Linked DNA regions of Homo sapiens: regions 1, 2, 4, 5, 6 and 7 are each linked to region 3. The links are contacts of gene promoters, found by promoter capture Hi-C in blood cells and fetal thymus (Javierre and others, 2016). All regions are on one chromosome and are shown on one strand. The core of a region is centred on a gene start or on the middle of the fragment in contact, and the rest is flanking DNA. Distances in the headings are between cores, read along the strand shown.

Region 1 (2,700 bases), core at 156-2,655, 600 kb after region 3:
CTTATGCAACCAATTGAGTCGCGCCCTGTAGACTGTACACTGCTTAGGACTGCTGACATTAGGCAGCCATCAGCACCCCTCTGCTGCAGGCCACACACGCATGATCTTACCACTTTATAATCACAAGGCATTTTGAACTGACGTTAGATTACCTGATTGTGACAAACTTGCTCATTGCAAATTGGACCTCAAAAGACTTTTATCTATAAATAAGTAAAACCTACCCTCAGAGGAAAAGAAGTTTGCCTTCTCAGCAATAAGCAAACAGTAAAAAGCATTTGCCACAGACTCAATAATTTAGATAGTATATGAAACTTTGCAAGGTTCTAAGATGAGAATACCAGAAGGGAGTCTATTCATTTATTTGTCTATTTGAAAGGTGTGATGTCTACTGTGGGTCAGTTGCTGAGATGAGTGTTGGAATATGGTGCTGAGCAAAACATACCCAGTCCCATCACTTGCAGAGCAAGACAAGACATTAGATAGTAAACATGCCAAGGAATATTTATTGAGATAAATGCAACGAAGGAGAAGAACAGGATGTATACAAACAGGAGAGACAGTCTAGGCCTCTATGAGTAGGACATATGGAAACAGACTTGAAGGGCGAGAAGGAGCCCATCATGTACAGCATGAGGGAAGGTGCTCCAGACCAGAAGGCATGGCTTATGTGAAGGTCCCGGGTCATCTCCTTTCTGGAGGATGAGACACATTCTGGGCACATGTAGCATAGTGGTCGAATCACAGGCTCAGAAGTCTGAATGCCTGGGTTCCAACCCCAGCTCCACCAGCAGGCTACCTGACCTTATGAAAGTCACTCAACCCTTGTCGTTCTTGGTATTTTCATCTATAAAACAGGAAAGGTAGTACTGTCTTACATATAGGTATGTTCACACGAGATAATTGATGCAAAGTGCTGGGCTTATAGGAAAAAATCCAATAAATATCAGTGATACAATATTGGTTTGCAGGAATTTGAGATAGTCGGCCTTGGCCAGGCTGATGTGCTCTTAACTTGGTTTAGCATCAGATCCCGGCAGCTTCTGGTTATGCTATAGGAATAGTATATATGCAGAGCCAAGATAGTGTCAAGAATTTCGAACAAGACTGGAAGAAATATATTGTTGAGAAAAGCAGTTATCACAACTTGGAATTCACACACATGCTAGGGCTAGAGTTTGCAGAAGGGGCTCATCAAAGGCACAAACACGTGGAGGCTGAGGTTATGAATGGGAAAGAGTGCCAAGCAGTGAGCAGGACAGATGGGAACATGGGCAACAGGCCCAGATCAGGACTCAAGAGATGATGGGACAGGCAGAAGCCAAGGCTTGATCTCAGACAGCAAGTACAGTCATCCCTAGTAGTCTTTGTTATCTTGAAAGGGAGTCTATTTGTAAGTGTGGCTGCCAACCCATTCCTTAATATTTGAGTCTATTAGTATGTTGAGCTGAGCTGTACTTCTTCGCCCATAAACCCTTCATATTACACTTGATGAAAGTGTTTTCTCTTCCTGGAAAATGGGGATGAGGGTAAAAGAGTTCACCTAGCCCTACATGCTAGCCTACAGAGGCTGGCATCTCTGAGTTCCCATGCTTTTTGTACTTTCCTCCTAGAAAAGGCTCTCTGTCCAGATGGCCATCTGTTCTTTGCTTCTGTAGCCTAAATTAAGGCTAGGATAACTTGGGGTCTCTATCCACTTTCTTCTTCAAATAAAATACTGGGATGCAACTTAAATCCTTTGTTAGGTGTTTTAGAAAATTCCAAAGGGAAAAGAATGTAATATTGAATGACACACAGTCAAACAACCTAACATTCCTTTTTACTCATCTATTGCCCCAAGGTCCCTCTCATCCTAACAGCAACTGCTTCTCTTACTCCCTCCCTCCCTGAAAAAAAAAACAAAAAAAAACAAAAAAACAAGGCTCAAACTTTCACTCATATCTCAGGCCATGGCTTTTTTTCTTTTTTTTTTAACTTCTGCCTCTTCTACTTCCTTCATAGCAAAATGAAAGAGAAGATTTATGATGGTATTGTGTGATCCTGTCACACCCCTAAAGGAGAGAGGTGGTGGTATAGTTAAGTTTTATTCCTTCAGTCTCTTTCCTGCAGCCATGCTCAAGAGTGTCACAGGGGGCTTGGAGGTTGGTGCTAGCCTAGTTTTTAGTCTGAGCCAATACAATGGCTAAGACTAAATTATCAAGTCTCTGAGACAGACATGTAGGATTTCTTTATGTTGCATCTACTTTATATACCATCTCCCAGTAAAAACACTATGTCCCAAATTCAATGCTATTTTACAAATTGTTGGTGTCAAGTCTGAAATAAGGTTGTGGTCCACCCTCTGAAAGTGGTACACAATGGACGTGCTGGATATTTTCTGCCACCCTCCCGTCTCCTGTTTCCATCCTTCTTCTCCTTTTCTTGGGCCCCCAAGGGACTCATCTTTGTGGACTGAATCAGCAGGCAATTTTGCCTGCTTCAGGACTTGATTGCTACCAATGAGGAGCAACAGCAGATGTGGGGGCCGGGGAGAGTGAAGAAGTTGGGCGTTGATTTATTTTCTGTGCTGTCTGACTGCCTGGTCACTGCATCCTTCTTCTGAAGGCCACAGCTCATTGCAGGCGGCCCACTTTATCTATATAGTTCATTCTCTCTCTCTCTCTCTCTCTCTCTCTCTCTCTCTCTCTCTCTCTCTCTCTC
Region 2 (2,700 bases), core at 38-2,537, 620 kb after region 3:
TCTTTTTTTTTTAGTTACCAAAATGCAGAGCTTTCAGGCTGATTATTTTGGAGTCTATTTGGATCCTTTGTGGAGCTGGGAAGTAAATCGTCAGCTTATACACAAGGTGGCACCCTGTGATTCCAACCAGGTCTGAGAGGAGCGATGCTGCTAAGAAACTGAGCCACAGTCACAAATTTTTATTTACCATCTGCTATTCCCACGGTGGCAAATGCAGAGGTAGAAGTAGATGTTTGGCAGGTCACCTCTCAGTGTAGTCTCTGTCCCTATGTCTCAAAGATGCAGAGCTGCCTCAGAAAAGGGCACTGGAACCACAGAACTGATTCCAGTTGATTGTAATGAATGCAGACCCCACATTCAGATTACATATGGAAAACAACGAAGCTTTATTAGTACTAGGCTCATTCCTGGGAACATAAGGGGGAGGGGTGGAGATGCAGTTCACATACTAACCCAATTAACTTTCAAATGGTTTTGCTGAAACCAGGAGCCAATTAGAAAGAACGTGACATTTGCAAAACTCTGAAATAGTTGAATAGCAACTGTGTTTACTAGTTTTAAGATTCCTTTCAAAAAGTAATTTGTCCATTATTTGGAAGCTGCCTGCCTTGATTATAGTACTGGGAGATGGACACTGGAATGTAATCCTAATTCTAACAGTTATTTGACATTTATTCTAATTTAGACTACATTTAGACAGTGATTTTATTTTGATATGGCTTTAAACTGGTTTTAATTCTTGGGTGCTTATATATTATGCTTGCTGGGCTAAATGCATGTCATTTGGAATTGGTCTAGAGCATATCTGAAGTGGACTGATTTTAGAATGACTATACTTAGCGCATTGTATGTGGAAATTAAAATAGGCTATTAGGCTGCACACCCATTTGAGGCAGGTCTTGATAAAAATATTTCATGAGAGAATTTTTTATTTTATAAGAAGATATTTTTTGCTTTTAGCACTAACAATTATATGAGTATTCAACAAATCAATCAGAAATAAACTTTATGAAAAGTAATATTTATATACAAATAAAAGTTACTTTCCAAAAGTGAACAGTGGCATTCCGGTTTGGGCACTGAATTGGAAGCCAAGAAAACACAGGCTGTGTCTCCGTTGAAAAGTATATTGTGTTATTTGCCTTAAATGGTTTTATTCCCAGCTCTATAATCATTGCCTACAGGGTGAGAAGAAAATGGAGATTTGGGGAAGAAATCTTTTACATGGTCAAAGTAAAAGAACAACAAAGAAACAACCACAACAGCAAAAATCCCTTCCTATAAATTCCAGGTTTCAAAAAGGTGTTTTTGAATAACATTAATTGGTTCTAAAATCTCTATGCACAAAGGTACAAAGCTGGACAACAGGGTAGGCCACAGTAAGAACAAATATTGGCAGCAATAGCTAGGTCAGGTGACAGGCCAGTGAGGTATGTGAACTATAAACTAGAGTGGCATGGGGTCAGTATCAGTGAATTTCTTCATGGAATATCAGTCAACAAATATACTTTAGATGCCTGCCATATGTGAGGCATGGAACTGGGGATACAGTGATTGACAGACAGATGTTGTTCCTGCCCTCCTTGGTCTACTGCAACTTTAGGCTCTGGCTTATGCGCTCCCTTGGCCGTTGGTTGGAAGGTCTTAGTAACTAATTTTGAATTAGCAGCTTTAGAATGCTGACTGGTCAATAAGCTGAAGAGCTTGGATAGCAGGGTAGCACCACTGAGAAAACCAGAGTTTTGGAGTCAGGTCAGACCTGAATTTGAGCCCAGTTCTGCAAGTTGTTGGAATTGAAATTTGGCAAATTATCTGATGCTCAGTTTTCTTATTGGTAAAATTATATTTTTTCATAAAATTATAATAAGAATTAAGTGGAATTCAACTAGTTGAGATAATATATATAACATGTTACTACAATGGATGGTATATTACACATACTTGATATTTCCTTTTCTGAGAGAAACAGTAAAACTAAACATAGGGACTAGAAGAAAGCTATCCTTTCTGAACCTGAGGAGGGCTGGGCATCCAGATGAAAGCTCTGGATGACTCATTTCTTCAACTATTGCTTTTTTCTTCCCTTTCAGGCTTGAACCCAGTGCTGACCCCCTCCCAAGAACTTCTTGTTCTTGCTTCCAGAGGATTGGAACTGTTCCAGGGGTAGCACTTAGAGAGCAGGACATGCCCATAAGCTTGAGGAAGGTACTGCTTACAAGAAATGAGTCACAGCAACTCCATTGCTTCCAACAACAAAGTGGATGAAAAACACTCAAGCCCCACTAAACAATACTCGGAGTTTTGCTGCGACAGACTGGTTAGACTATTTGGACACTACCATGAAGACTATATCCACCATTCTGCCTTCAAAGGAGGAGACTGCAGAGAGAAAAGGGGAAGAGGAACAGGAGGAAAAAGGGGGAGGGGAGGAAGTGGAGGAGGGGAAGAAGGACGTAATAGAGGAAGAGATATAGTTTTATTGTCACATAGAAATGACAGTAGGAATCAATTTTTTCACTGTTGGTCTTTAGGAAATCATCTGACTTTCTCTGAGTTAGAGTATGATCGATTATTAGAAAATGGTAAAATGTGTTAAAAACTCTCTTTGTACGGTTTTGTGAGAAATGTGTAATGCTTAAAGACTAACCAAGAGCCTCTTGGCTAAACCAGGTTGATGTCAACAATAGCTAGTACTTATTT
Region 3 (2,700 bases), core at 46-2,545:
ATTAGCCAGGCGTGGTGGCACATGCCTGTAGTTTCAGCTACTCGGGAGGGTGAGGCAGGAGAACTGCTTGAACCCAGGAGACAGAGGTTGCAGTGAGCCGAGATCGCGCCACTGCACTCGTCTGGGAGACAGAGCGAGACTCCGTCTCAAAACAAAAAACAAACAAAAAGAACCCACCCAACAGAATTAAGTACCAACATAATAAATACGAAGAATTTTAGATTCTTGGTTTTTAAAAAACATACAAAGATGATATTCCTTCAAAATATCTTTACAAAACATATTGAGACTGTGATGCTTTATATTGATTGTATGAAAACAATGAAAAAGAACCAGCACTGTTTCACTATAAAAGCTTTACTAATGTAAATTTATAAATCCTTTCTTAAATATTTTGAGTTAATTCTAATTTTATGATAGAAATTCATTATTTTCAGCAAAAACAGCTGGCATTTGGGAAACCAAAGGCTCAAAAACTAAGAATAGTAACCAAAGAAACTTGACAAAACAGTCCTTTTAAAACTCTCATCTACACTATAAGGGGAAACTTTGATCACGTCCCTTCTCCTTCATCAATCGTAGAACTCAACATTAAGGACTACACAATCCCACATCCCTCTCCGAGAAAAAGCAAAGGCTTTGTGTTGTAGCAACAACGCAAGACATGGAGGGAAGCTCCACTCAAGACTTCCCTGCCTGCTCCTTCCCCAAAGCCACTCCAGAATACCAGGGAGGGTTGAGAGGTAAGGCATGAAGGGCGCAATATCCAATATGAGCAACGCGTGTGATGCATCTGGTCAAAATGCATACAGAGGACTTGTCTCTGTCCCTAGATAGAAGTCCTCCGTCCTGCAGTCATGAGGGTCAATTGCTGAGGCTTCACAGTTCCCTTCTCTCTTACACTCGGACCGTCACGCTCCTCACCTACTACCCCGATGCAGAGGTAGACTCAGGATCCCTGCACTTGTCAAGGATTCCTCGGCAAGCTCACGGGGCGGGAGTGGCCACAAGACGGAGCTCGCCTGGTCCTGGCCTTCCCGGCCTATACAAGCCTGCCCCCTTCCCAATTCCCAATCTCCACAGCCTTCCATCCTCCCACTTTCGATTCACCTTGCGCCACCGACGCCCCTGGCCTTCGTTTGCAGCAAGTTTACCCCCACCATTACCTCTCGCATAAAAGCCTGCATTTACCAGGTCAAAGAGGGGAACCAACGCCTGCAGGAATCGCTTCACCGAATCGCCTGGCCGCGTCCTCTGCTAGACTTCACCTGCCGCTGCGGACCGTACACAACCACTCCCGGCATGCCCCGCGCACGCACTACCTCTCCCACCCCGCCCCTCTCCCGCCCAAACACGTGACCTCCTTTCGTCTCCGTCCACGCCCACTTCCGTTCCTCCACTTTCCCTTAGGAAGGAGGAGGGAGCTGGGGGTGTTAAAAGCGTAGCGACTTCCTCCTCCTCCCCGCCCCCGCTCCTGTACCTCCCGCTACAATGTCTTCCGGGTCGCTAGCGCCTCGACGCCTTCTGGGAAAATAGCTCATTTCCTCCCCTCCCCCTCCTCCTGCCTTCAACCAACCAGCCACCCGTCAGAGAGGGACATGCGCAGTGAGTGCCTCCCGTCTCTTCTACCCGAACCCCCCCTCCCCCCCAAGCAGAGAGACCCCAGCAGCAGCAGCAGCTGATGATGAAGAGAGAGGCAGTGGCAGAGGGGGGGCACCTTTTATTTCTATTTTTAAAGGGACAGGACACTAATTCTACCCCACTTCAACCTTGAATTCAGGGGGGTGGGGGGAAGGCGGCTGAGTTCCTTCCCCCACCCTCCAGCCCTGAGCCCTGAGAGGGGGATTGAGCCTGAGAGAGGAGAAGGAGTTTCTTCTTCTTCGAAAACCCCCATCCACGACTCCTACCCCCTCACCCCTCCAACTCGCCTCCCTCCCTCCACCCTCCTCCTCTTTGGCCGTGAGAGGAGGAGAGAAAGAAACCAAAAGCCTCTTAGCAACACAGACCCTTTGCTGCTGCTGTTGCTGCTGCTGCTGCTGTTGCTGCTGCTGCTGCTACTGCTGCTGCTGCTACTGCTGCTGCTTGGCCCTGGCTGGAGACATCTCACTACACCCAGGAGCAGCCACTTCCCCAGCTCTCCTCCTCCTCCTTCGCCTCCTCCTCCTCCACTCCCCCCCTTTATTACCCTTTGTGTCATCCTCCACAGCTCCAGGGAAGGCACTCAAAAGTGGGGGGCAGGAAAGGTAAGTGTGTCTGTGGGGGCTTCATTGCCTTCCTCTGGCTCTGACTTTCACTCCGGGGCAACAGTAGCACCAAACCACATACGCAGTGGAGCTCCGGGGTGAGGAGGGGGTGGTGCTGGGGGGGGTGAAGGAGGGGTTGGAGTAGGGAGGGGTGTGTGAGGTGGGGTGCCCATCCTGTCAGGGGAGGAAGGGCACTTTTATTTTTATTTGCTGTTGTCAAAAGTGGTTTCTCTCCTCCATCTAACATCTGATTGTGTCTTGCTCCAGTGGGGGAGAATACAAAAACAACCCCCTCCTTCCTCCAATGAGGCGCCAGGGAAAGAGACAGAAAGAGGCACACTTTCTAGATGTCACTTAAAAAAAATTCATTGGAGAGCTCTTTTTCTCCAGGAAAAGCTCCACTGCATTTGTTTCTGAGTGGGAAAATGTCGGGATCTGGATTGTATTGGAACTGCTT
Region 4 (2,700 bases), core at 127-2,626, 670 kb after region 3:
AGTTGTGATTGTTTGCCCTCTGTTGGGCAGAGTTTATTGAGAGAAGGGACTTTTTTTTCTTTGAATTTCACTGCCTAGTACAGTACTTATAGCATGTGGTTAGGTGTGCAGTTAAATATTTGCTGAATAAATAAATGAGTGAAAGAATTAATGAAATTAAAAGCATATACTCCATGGCATTTTCGAGCCATCAGTATTTGTTGGACTAAAAATTGTACACAGAATCAAATATAAGGCTAAAATTATTAGTGCATACAGTGAAATTGAGCAACCCGCTGTGTTAGAAATTAAAAGGTGAGTTCTGTTATTCACCAACTGTTAATTTAGCCCAAAAAGTGCCGAGAAGGAGTTGGGAGTGGACTCCAATCTGTTATGAAAGTGAGACAAACATTCTTGTTCCTTCTGATCCCTTTCAGTAGCAGTTCTTCATAGTCACCCTTAATCAGCTTTATGCAGAATTTATTGAATCATAACACATTGAGCTGTCTTTACCAGGTGGGAAGCATCCTGAAGGCACAAAGTCTTTGATGACCTAAGATAGTAAAACACTTCAGTTGTGTGCCACATGCAGAAAAAAACACTACCTACTTTCATTAAGTTACATTTACTTTGGGTTCCTCAACCCAAATGTTATAATTTTCATTCCTCTTGGAGTTCAATAATTTTATTAAATTCAGTACCCAAACTTTTCTCTTTAAGGAAACAACTTTGTTTACATTTCAATAGTATCTTTATTTGATCTCCTATTACCTGTTTTATTTAATATGATAACATTTTACAGTTGATACTAAATATCTTGGAATTGTAGAACACGAAGGAACTTAACATTCTCCTCCCCCCGCCCAAACCCTGGTGACGGAATCTTGCTCTGTTGCCCAGGCTGGAGTGCAGTGGTGCAATATCTGCTCACCACAACCTTCCTCACCGCCCCCACCAGGTTTAAGCAATTCCTCTGCCTCAGCCTCCAGAGTAGCTGGGATCACGGGTGCGTGCCACCACGCCCGGCTAATTTTTGTATTTTTAGTAGAGATAGGGTTTCACCATGTTGGCCAGGCTTATCTTGGACTCCTGGCCTCATGATCCGTGATCTGCCCACCTTGGCCTCCTAAAGTGTTGGGATTACAGGCGTGAGCCATCGCACCAGCCTGACATTGTTTCTTAAGTATTCTGAAGTTAATTTGTATCCAGTTTTGAACTCAGTTAAATAGTTCTTGGTAGCAGGACTCTCTTTTCTTATTTTGAAATGAAAGTTTACTTCCCCCATCTCATTCCCTTAGTCTTACAAACATAGAACAGTAGACGGTCCTGACTGAAAGAAGAGTTCAGGAGAAAGGATAGGTGGAGTAATAACTTGTCATCTGTCAGGCAGAGAGAGGAATGCACTCAAAGGGAATTGAAATGTACCGTTTGTGTCTGCTTCCAAGATTTTAAGCCCTAGCAAAATGCCTGTGTGTGGACACTGCTGTACACTTCTGTACAACTTGAAGCTGACTCCTCAGACTGATAAAGCTGACTGTTGTCAAGTCTACATTGGAAAAGAGAAAAAGTTACACTTACCAACATAAAGTGGACCTGTGTATACCACTAGGTTTTTCAGCATGGTTAAAATAGATGCTGGCCTGACATCCAACTTCAGTCTCATTATCCTTGGAAATGTCTTTTGATATTCTCTGCATTATGCAAAAAATGATAATTGACCTGTTCTTTCAGGGCAAACATATTTTGATTGGAAAGAGTTGGGGAGGATTCAGAACAAATGAAGAGCATTGTTTTGTTTATACAGTAAGACTTATTGGTAGAAAGGATGCATTCCAGGAACATCATTTTCTTGTAAAAAAAATACTATTGGATGTGTATTAAGAAATTGGACATAAATTCTGTGAAAGGACATCACATATTCAAATAAATAAAGACTGGTAAAACAATGCCATGGGTACAGAAGCAGATTTTGTCAGATTTGTGGAGAACACATTACAGGTGAAGCTGGATCTCAATTTCAGGTGATTAGAAGGGACAGGGAATAAGGCCAGCCCCTGAGGGCAACCCACATTCAGATCAGCTAGCTCTAAGGATATTCCTCTCTCCTCAGATTGTGCACTAGCTGCAACCGTGTCCTATTCTTGGGCAAAGCTGTGAGTGTGGACATGGGCTGAAATGGTAGAGTTGTATCTGGGTAGGTACTAATCCAGGAAGGAGGAGAAGCCTCCAAACCTAGAAGATAATAGATATGAAAGGAGGCCAGGCACAGTGGCTCACACCTGTTATCCCAGCACTTTGGGAGGCCAGTGTGGGAGGATCACTTGAGTCCAGAAGTTGAAAACTAGTTTGGACAACACAGTGAGACCTTGTCACTACAGGAGAAAAAAAAGGTAATGCCAGACATTGTGTGAAAAGCAAACTAATCATTGGGTAGTCTGAGATAAATGAAAGAGAAGCCTGAGTTTAAAGGAGAACGCCCCTTCAGGCTATGTGCATTTATTTATGTCCACTTTTCAAAAAAGAAAAAAAGGCATTTGCAGTGACTTAGAGTAAAATACAATGCAATAAATTAAAGACCATGGTTAAAGAAATCAGGGAGAGAATAAAGACACTATAATAAGGTAAATTTGATGTATAGTGGCACATATTTTAGCCATGATGTGATTACAAAATATAAAAGCAGTATTGGTCATAAAGGGTGCATGATTCTTGGTCTTCAAG
Region 5 (2,700 bases), core at 23-2,522, 650 kb after region 3:
TCTCACTCTGCTGCCCAGGCTAGAGTACAGTGGCAAGATTTCTGCAGCCTCAACTTCCAGGCTCAAGCAATCCTTCCACCTCAGCCTCCCAAGTAGCTGGCACGTGCCACCTATTTTTGTTTATTTTTTGTGGAGACTAGACATCAGTATGTTGCCCAGGCTTGTCTTGAACTCCTAGGCTAAGCAGTCTTCCTTTCTCATCTTCTGAAAGTGCTGGGATTACTGTGTGAGCCACTGCACCCAGCCCCTATTCTTTCTCATTCTTGACTAATACATGAACAATTTTTATGATGGTTTCTTGGGTACTTGGGAAGGAGGGGCCATTTGGGCATAAAGTCTGATATATAGGTTTAAGATCAACCTTATTAAGTTGCTTAGGTGTTCACTTGATTTGTTTTATGCTGATAGTGGTATATTAAAGTTTGCTGTTATTAGTGTGTTTTTATTTATTGGTACTTGCATATCTGGTAGCTTTTGCTTCATAAAATGTTTGCTTCATTACTTGCTGTAAAAATAATCATAAATGCTAAATCTCTATTGTGGATTGTGATTTTTTTTTTTTTTTTTTTTGTAGCATTAAAAAGTCATCTTTTTGGCTGGGCATGATGGCTCATGCCTGTAATCCCAGCACTTTGGGAGGCCGAGGCAGGCGGATCACTTGAGATCAGGAGTTTGAGACTGGCCTGGCCAACATGGTGAAACCCTGTCTCTACTAAAAATATAAAAATTAGTCAGGCATGGTGGTGTGCACCTGTAATCCCAGCTGCTCGGGAGGCTGAGGCAGGAGAATTGCCTGAACCTGGGAGGTGGGGGTTTCAGCGAGCTGAGATTGTGCCACTGCATTCCAGCCTGGGCAACAGAGCAAGACCCCATCCCCCCAAAAAAAGTCATCTTTTCTATGGTCATATTTAATTTTCTTTGGCTTGAATTCTACTTGTATTAGGATCTGCTTGCATTTCTTATTGTCTCCATTTACCTGGTAAACTTTTGTCCGTCCCTTTATTTTTACCCTTTCTTAACCATCTTTGAGTAAGCTCACAAAAATTCAGCTTATTCTATTTTTTCCTCTTCCTCCTTGCATTTTTAGTTGCATTATTTTCATTTAGAGGAGGAATTTTTTTTTTTGGTGTACAGTGTATAGTTGAGCCTTGGATTACAAGCCAAATTGAAAACCTTTTTGTTTTAGTAGGTGAGTTAAATTCATTCACATTTGTTGATATGCCTGAATATGTATGGGATATTGGCCTATAGTTTTCTTAAAGTATCTTTGAGTTTGAGAAGGATTTGTGTCCATCCTTCTTGAAATGTTTGGTAAAATTCTCCAGTGAAGCCATCTGGTCCTAGGCTTTTCTTTGTTGAGAGGTGTTTTGATTACTGACTCAGTCTTCTTAATTATAAGAAGTACTTAAAAGTAAGTCTTATAATTGTTATATATTACTGGTGAATTAACTCATTTGTCTTTATGTATCTTTATGTCTTTGATGGTTTTTGACTAAAGTCTCTTTTGTCTGATAGAAGTATGGACATCTCTGCTTTCTTTTGGTTACCATTTACATGGAATATCTTTTTCCATCTTTTCACTTTCAGGCTATGTTTGTCCTTATGTCTAAAGTGAATCTCTTGTAGATAGCATGTGGTCGGAGTCTTTTTGTTTTTCACGCCATTCATCTACTCTATCTCTCACATGCTGACTTCCCTTTGTGCTTCGTTGATTTTGTTTTTTATAGTGACATACTTTTATTTCTTTCATTAATTTTCTTGAAGGTATTTGTGGTGTGATCATCATGGGGATTACATAAAACATCTTACAGTGGCAACAGTCTAAAAACTTAAAAGCAATTTATTTTTGTATACAAAAACTATGCCTTTTGCTCACCACCGCTTAATATTATAGTGTCAAAATTATATTTTTTGTGTTTTGTATGCATTAACATAGTTTTTTAAAAATGTTTTTGTCTTTTAAGTTGTATACCAGAAATTAAAATAATTTGCATACCACTATTACAGTAGTATAGGTTCTCTATTTGCCTATATATTTACTTTTACCTAAGTTTTATATTTTTGCGTGGTTTCTTGTTGTTGTCTAGCATCCTTTTGTTTCAACTTGAAGGACTCCCTTTAGCAATTTTTATAGGAAGGGTCAGTAGCGATGAACTCCCTCAGTTTTTACTTATCTGGGAGGTTTTTATTTGTCTTTCATTTTTGAAGAACATTTTGTCAGATATATCATTCTGTTCTGACAGTTTTTTTCTCTCAGTCCTTTGGATATATTACTCTGTTTCCTGAGCTGTAACGTTTCTGCTGAGAAATGCACTGATAAATCTATGAGCTCTCCCTTGTACATGACAAGTTGTTTTTCTCTTACTTTCAAGATTCTCTGTCTTTGACTTTTGATAACTTGATTATAATTATTATAATGTTTCTCAGTGTGTGTGTTGTTGGGCTATTCTAGTTGGAGTCCTTTGAGCTTCCTGAATTTGGATGTCCATTTCCTTAATTGGATTTGGGAAATTTTTGCCATTATTTCTTCAAATAAGCTCTCTGTCCCTTCTCTCTCTAACCTTCTTAAGCTCCTATAATGTGTATATTGGTCCGCTTGATTGTATCCCATAAGTCCCTTAGTGTTTCTTCACATTTCTTCATTCTTTATGTTCCTCTGACTCAAAAATTTCAAATGACTTGTATTTGAATTCACTGATG
Region 6 (2,700 bases), core at 55-2,554, 690 kb after region 3:
TGTTACAAAAGAGACAAAAAGTTAAAAAGTAAAAGTTTATAAAGTGAAAAAGTTACAGTAAGCTGTTTATTATTAGAGAAAAAAAATTTTTTTTAAGTTTAGTGTAGCCTGAGTGTAGTCTACAACAGTGTAATGTCCTAAGCCTTTGCATTCAGTCACCCCTCAACTCACCTAGACAACTTGCCATCCTATAAGCTATATTTATGATGTGCCCTATACAGTATATACCATTTTTTATCTTTTATACCATAGTTCTACTGTACCTTATCTATGTTTAATGTTTAGATATACAGATACTTCCCATTATTTCACAGTTGCCTACACTAGCATGCTCTACAGGTTTGTAGCCTAGGAGCAATAGGCTACAGCATATAGCATAGGTTGTACCTTTAGGTTTGTGTAGGTACACTCTGTGATGTTCCCACAATGAATGAAATCATCTAACAGATGCATTTGTCAGAATGTTTCTTTTTTATTTCTTGATTGAGGGGTACATGTGCAGGATGTGCAGGTTTCTTGCCTAGTTAAACATGTGCCATGGTGATTAGCTGCACAGATCATTCCATCACCTAGGTATTAAGCCCAGAATCCATTAGCTGTTCTTCCAGATGCTCTCCCTCCTCCCACCCCCCACCCTCTGACAGGCCCCAGTGTGGGTCGTTCCCCCCATCCCCATGTGTCCATGTGTTCTCATCATTCAGCTCCCATTTCTAAGTGAGAACATGCAGTATTTGATTTTCTGTTTCTGTGTTAGTTTGCTAAGGATAATGGCTTCCAGCTCCATTCATGTCCCTGCAGAGGGCATGATCTCGTTCCTTTTTTTTTGGCCACATAACATTCTGTGGTGTGGATGTAGCACATTTGCATTAGCCAGTCTATCATCGATGGGCATTTAGGTTGATTCCATGTCTTTGGTATTGTGAATAGTGCTGCAGTGAACATGCATTCATGTATCTTTATAATAGAATGATTTATATTCCTTTGGGTATATACCAAGTAAGGGGATTGTTGAGTCAAATGGTATTTCTGCCTCTAGGTCTTTGAGGCATTGCCACACTGTCTTCCACAATGGTTGAACTAATTTACACTCCCACCAACAGTGTAAAAGCGTTCCTTTTCCTCCACAACCTTGCCAGCATCTGTTGTTTTTTGACTTTTTAATAATTGCCATTCTGACTGGTGTGAGATGGTACCTCATTGTGGTTTTGATTTGCATTTCTCTAATGATCAGTGGTGTTGAGCTTCTTTTCATGTTTGTTGGCCACATGAATGTCTTCTTTGGAGAAGTGTCTGTTCATGTCCTTTGACCACTTTTAATCAGGTTGTTTTTTTCTTGTAAATTTGTTTAAGTTCCTTGTAGATGCTGGAATATTACATCTTTGTCAGATGGGTAAGTTGCAAAAAGTTTCTCCCATTCTGTAGGTTGTCTGTTTACTCTGATGAGAGTTTCTTTTGCTGTGCATAAGCTCTTTAGTTTAATTAGATTCCATTTGTCAAGTTTTGCTTTTGTTGCAGTTGCTTTTGGCATCTTTGTCATGAAATCTTCGCCCATGCCTATATCCTGAATGGTATCGCCTAGATTTTCTTCTAGGGTTTTTTTTTTTTTTTTTTTTTTTTTGGAGACAGAGTCTTGCTCTGTTGCCTAGGCTGAAGTGCAGTGGCACGATCTCAGCTCACTGCAAGCTCCGCCTCCCAGGTTCACACCATTTTCCTGCCTCAGCCTCCTGAGTAGCTGGGACTACAGGCACGTGCCACCGCACCCGGCTACTTCTTTGTATTTTTAATAGAGACCAGGTTTCACCATGTTAGCCAGGATTATCTTGATCTCCTGACCTTGTGGTCTGCCCACCTCGGCCTCCCAAATTGCTGGGATTACAGGCGAGAGCCACTGCGCCCAGCCTCTTCTAGCGTTTTTATAGTTTTGGGTTTTCCATTTAAGTCTTTAATCATCTTGAATTGATTTTTGTTTTTGGTGTAAGGAAGGGGTCCAGTTTCAGTTTTCTGCATATGGCTAGCCAGTTTTCCGAGCACCATTTATTAAATAGGGAATTCTTTCCCCATTGCTTGTTTTTGTCAGGTTTGTTGGAGGTCAGGTGGTTGTATGTATGTGATCTTATTTCTGGGTTCTCTATTCTGTTCCATTCGTCTGTGTGTCTGTTCTTGTACTAATATCATGCTGTTTTGGTTACTATAGCCTTGTAGCATAGTTGAAGTCAGGTAGTATGATGCCTTCATGTTTGTTCTTTTTGCTTAGGATTGTCTTGGCTACTCGGGCTCTTTTTTGGTTCCATATGAATTTTAAAATAGTTTCTTCTAATTCTGTGAAGAATGTCAATGGTAGTTTAATGGGAATAGCATTGAATCTATAAATTGTTTTGGGCAGTGTGACCATTTTCACAATATTGATTCTTCCCACCCATGAACATGGAATGTTTTTCCATTTATTTGTGTCCTCTCTGATTTCTTTGAGCAGTGGTTTATAGTTCTCCTTGAAGAGGTCCCTCACTTCCCTTATTAGCTGTATTTCCAGGTATTTTATTATTTTTGTGGCAGTTGTGAATGTGAGTTCATTCGTGATTTGGCTCTCTGATTGCTTGTTATTGGTGTATAGGAAGGCCAACAATTTTTGAACATTGATTTTCTATCATGAGACTTGCTGAAGTTGCTTATAAGCTTAAGAAGCTTTTGGGCTGAGACGAT
Region 7 (2,700 bases), core at 32-2,531, 570 kb after region 3:
CTGGGTGACAGAGCAAGACTCCGTCTCAAAAAAAAAAATTAAAAAAAAAAAAAGAAAAAACATTCTGTAAGTTTTTATAGTTATGTATTTATCTTAATACATAAAGTATATTTTATATATTAGGGAAAGTTACAACTAGATTTTTAGGGAAAGCTAGCACATCTTGCCCAGGATTTCATGGATATGATTATGAGAAAAATGCCACATTAACTTACCTTTTAAAAGGGGGTTGCTGTAAAGAACAAATACGGTATGAATGTCATTATTGTAGAACATACAGATAGTAAAGATGGTGAGAGTTATTTGCGAATAACTGAGGTTTTGGAAATAGTATTTAATCCAACACTAAAACTCACAACTGAGGAAACAAGCTCAGAAGAATCACCATGTTTCAGAGAATTTAAGATGCCATGGATCATAGGATGTGTCTTAATTTCTGAGATGCTAAAATGTGAGGAAATTTCAAGAATAAATGAAATATGAAAGTAGGTTACTCAAAATCAGACATCTAGGATTAAGAGTATTTATTTATTTTTATTTATTATTAGTTTTTGAGCCAGGGTCTCACTCTGTCACCCAGGCTGGACTGCAGTGGCACACTGCAGCCTCCACCTCCCAGGTTCAAGCAATCCTCCGTCTTAGCCCCCCAAGTAGCTGGGACTACAGATGCGCGCCACCACACCTGGCTAATTTTTGCCCAGGCTGGTCTCAAACTCCTGGACTCAAGCAATCTACCCACCTTGGTCTCTCAAAGTGCTGTGATTATAGGCATGAGCCACCACACCTGGCTGGATTAAGAATATTTAAAGGGTAATTTCTTCTCTAAGAACCTTTCTACTTTAATAGGTGATAAGTGTTCACCCAAAGGAATAACATTCTCAGGATGGAATTTCAGGCATTGCCTGTGGTGAAATAGTTTTGGGCAACAGCCCTTCCAAGGTCCCCTGAAGTCATCCTTGTAGAAGCTGCCTGTTCTCCTGTCAATGTCCTCCAGTCAAATATCACCAGGAACGCAGCTGTAAATGAACAAGTTGGGTTTACTACTCATTGCAGTGAGGGAGAACTGTGAAGCATCTCAGCTAGAAGTGTTTGAAAGGACATATGGTAGGATTTGGGCTTGAATTATGTGATTTTGAAAAAGGTTTGAGGAAGCTGGGCCTTGGTCTGGAATAGATGCTGTCGGGGAGCCAAGGCAATTCTATGATTTGGCGTCCTAATAAAACTTTGCTAGAGGGTGAGAGAAATGAAGGAAAGCTAAAGCTGGGATTAGTAAGGAAACAGCATTCACTCGTATTAGCCAGGGCAAAGGGATGTTTGGTTATTTTGGTGGTTTGGACAATGTTCATGTTTTTGTCCATATTCAGACATAAGAGAGTGGTCTCGTCTTTGTGTTGAGCCATCAGGATCACAGAGTGGCCTTATCTGATGTTAATGTTTATGAAATTGTTTATGTTCAACAGAATGAGACTTGGCTGTGAGTGCCATGTCAACCCCTGGATGTCAGGGCTGCTCTTCCTTCTCACACCCAGGCAGCTCTCTCCTAAACTGTCTTGCTCCATTTAGCAGAAGGGTGGTTACCAGAGGCTTGGAAGGGTAGTGGGGGCTTGAGGTGGGGAGGTGGAGATGGTTAATGGGTACAAAAAAAAAGAAAGAATGAATAACACCTAACATTTGATAACTTAATTGTACATTTTTAAATAACTAAACAAATGTAATTTGTTTGTAACACAAAGGATAAATGCTTGAGGGGATGGATACCTCATTCTCCATGATGTGCTTATTTCACATTGCATGCCTGTATCAGAACGTCTCATGTACCCCATAAATATTTACAGCTACTATGTACCCACAAAAATTAAAAATTTAAACATTTTTAAAAATTAAAATGAAAACAAAATGTCAGATGCAAATTGTCAGCAAGTTAAGAATTTTGTATAATGCTAATAAATGGAAGACCCAGACTTGGACTTTAGGATGGCAAATGCCTTTGTTTAACTCTGAAAGTAATGGCCCTGCTATTTTATCCTTCTAGAGAATGTGATCTTCAGCCATCCATGACAATCAATACTCTACTTCAGTAAAGGCAATAATCTGTGTGCTCATCAGTTCATCCTTCACCAGCCGTCTCACACATACCCTCTCTTTTTACATGACAAAGAGTAATTGCCCTACTGAGACTTCCCTGGGATTTCTTTGCTTGGTCAATAGCATTTACCGGTGGTGGCAGAGCAAGAAAAGTATCTTAGAAACAGAACTCTCTCAAGGCCTGTGATGCTAACGGCCACCACCTCCCAAGGCTAGAGGCATTATTAACTAGAGGTAAGCAGGAGGAAATGAAGGTAGATTAGTAGTTGCCAGGAGCTGGGGATAGGGAGTTTCCTTAGGGGTGATGAAAGCATTCTAGAATTAGATAGTGGTGATGGTTGCACAACCTTTTGAATGTACTAAAAATCACTGAATTGTACACTCAAATGGATACATTTTATTGAATTATATATCAATTAAAAAATTTTTTTAAAGAACTGAATAACAAGAGAGGTCAAATAACACTTCAGAAAGACTTATCTTATTGGTCATCGTTGGATTTCTTTTTTTTTTCAGCTTTTAAGTTTAGGGGTCACATGCACGATGTGCAGGTTTGTTAATAGGTAAACGTGTGCCATGGTGATTTGCTGCACAGATCATCCCATCACCTAGGTA

The links. Contacts are between HindIII fragments. The CHiCAGO score rates a contact against its expected background, and 5 or more counts as called.
Region 1: a fragment that was not itself captured here is called in contact with the fragment with the promoter of ORC4 in region 3 in 4 of 17 cell types (total B cells, naive CD4 T cells, non-activated CD4 T cells and 1 more); the score reaches 9.0 in total B cells.
Region 2: a contact is called between a fragment that was not itself captured here and the fragment with the promoter of ORC4 in region 3, in 12 of 17 cell types (neutrophils, fetal thymus, non-activated CD4 T cells and 9 more). The highest score is 19.7, in neutrophils.
Region 4: a fragment that was not itself captured here is called in contact with the fragment with the promoter of ORC4 in region 3 in 2 of 17 cell types (fetal thymus and total CD4 T cells); the score reaches 6.2 in fetal thymus.
Region 5: a fragment that was not itself captured here is called in contact with the fragment with the promoter of ORC4 in region 3 in 9 of 17 cell types (neutrophils, fetal thymus, naive CD8 T cells and 6 more); the score reaches 10.4 in neutrophils.
Region 6: a fragment that was not itself captured here is called in contact with the fragment with the promoter of ORC4 in region 3 in 1 of 17 cell types (total CD8 T cells); the score reaches 7.4 in total CD8 T cells.
Region 7: a fragment that was not itself captured here is called in contact with the fragment with the promoter of ORC4 in region 3 in 1 of 17 cell types (activated CD4 T cells); the score reaches 5.6 in activated CD4 T cells.

What each region holds. Positions count from the first base shown.
Region 1 is chr2:148,621,281-148,623,980 of GRCh38, forward strand. No RefSeq gene overlaps it. Among named protein-coding and RNA genes, the nearest start is that of EPC2, 22 kb to the right of the region's middle. The HindIII fragment of the contact is 6,509 bases long and covers 1-2,700 here.
Region 2 is chr2:148,640,862-148,643,561 of GRCh38, forward strand. No RefSeq gene overlaps it. Among named protein-coding and RNA genes, the nearest start is that of EPC2, 2.5 kb to the right of the region's middle. The HindIII fragment of the contact is 1,811 bases long and covers 383-2,193 here.
Region 3 is chr2:148,019,442-148,022,141 of GRCh38, forward strand. ORC4 (origin recognition complex subunit 4) reads right to left here and starts at 1,296. Exons shown (of 14, transcript NM_181741.4): 1 at 1,192-1,296. It overlaps MBD5 (methyl-CpG binding domain protein 5), which reads left to right and starts at 1,650. Exons shown (of 14, transcript NM_001378120.1): 1 at 1,650-2,243. RefSeq lists enhancers at 941-1,538, 1,718-1,817 and a silencer at 1,208-1,367. The HindIII fragment of the contact is 3,631 bases long and covers 354-2,700 here.
Region 4 is chr2:148,693,931-148,696,630 of GRCh38, forward strand. All of the region lies in intron 2 of EPC2 (enhancer of polycomb 2), which reads left to right. Among named protein-coding and RNA genes, the nearest start is that of EPC2, 51 kb to the left of the region's middle. The HindIII fragment of the contact is 6,770 bases long and covers 1-2,700 here.
Region 5 is chr2:148,670,738-148,673,437 of GRCh38, forward strand. The region is part of intron 1 of EPC2 (enhancer of polycomb 2); the gene reads left to right. Among named protein-coding and RNA genes, the nearest start is that of EPC2, 27 kb to the left of the region's middle. The HindIII fragment of the contact is 7,570 bases long and covers 1-2,700 here.
Region 6 is chr2:148,713,433-148,716,132 of GRCh38, forward strand. All of the region lies in intron 2 of EPC2 (enhancer of polycomb 2), which reads left to right. Among named protein-coding and RNA genes, the nearest start is that of EPC2, 70 kb to the left of the region's middle. The HindIII fragment of the contact is 2,733 bases long and covers 1-2,671 here.
Region 7 is chr2:148,584,536-148,587,235 of GRCh38, forward strand. No RefSeq gene overlaps it. Among named protein-coding and RNA genes, the nearest start is that of EPC2, 59 kb to the right of the region's middle. The HindIII fragment of the contact is 3,730 bases long and covers 1-2,700 here.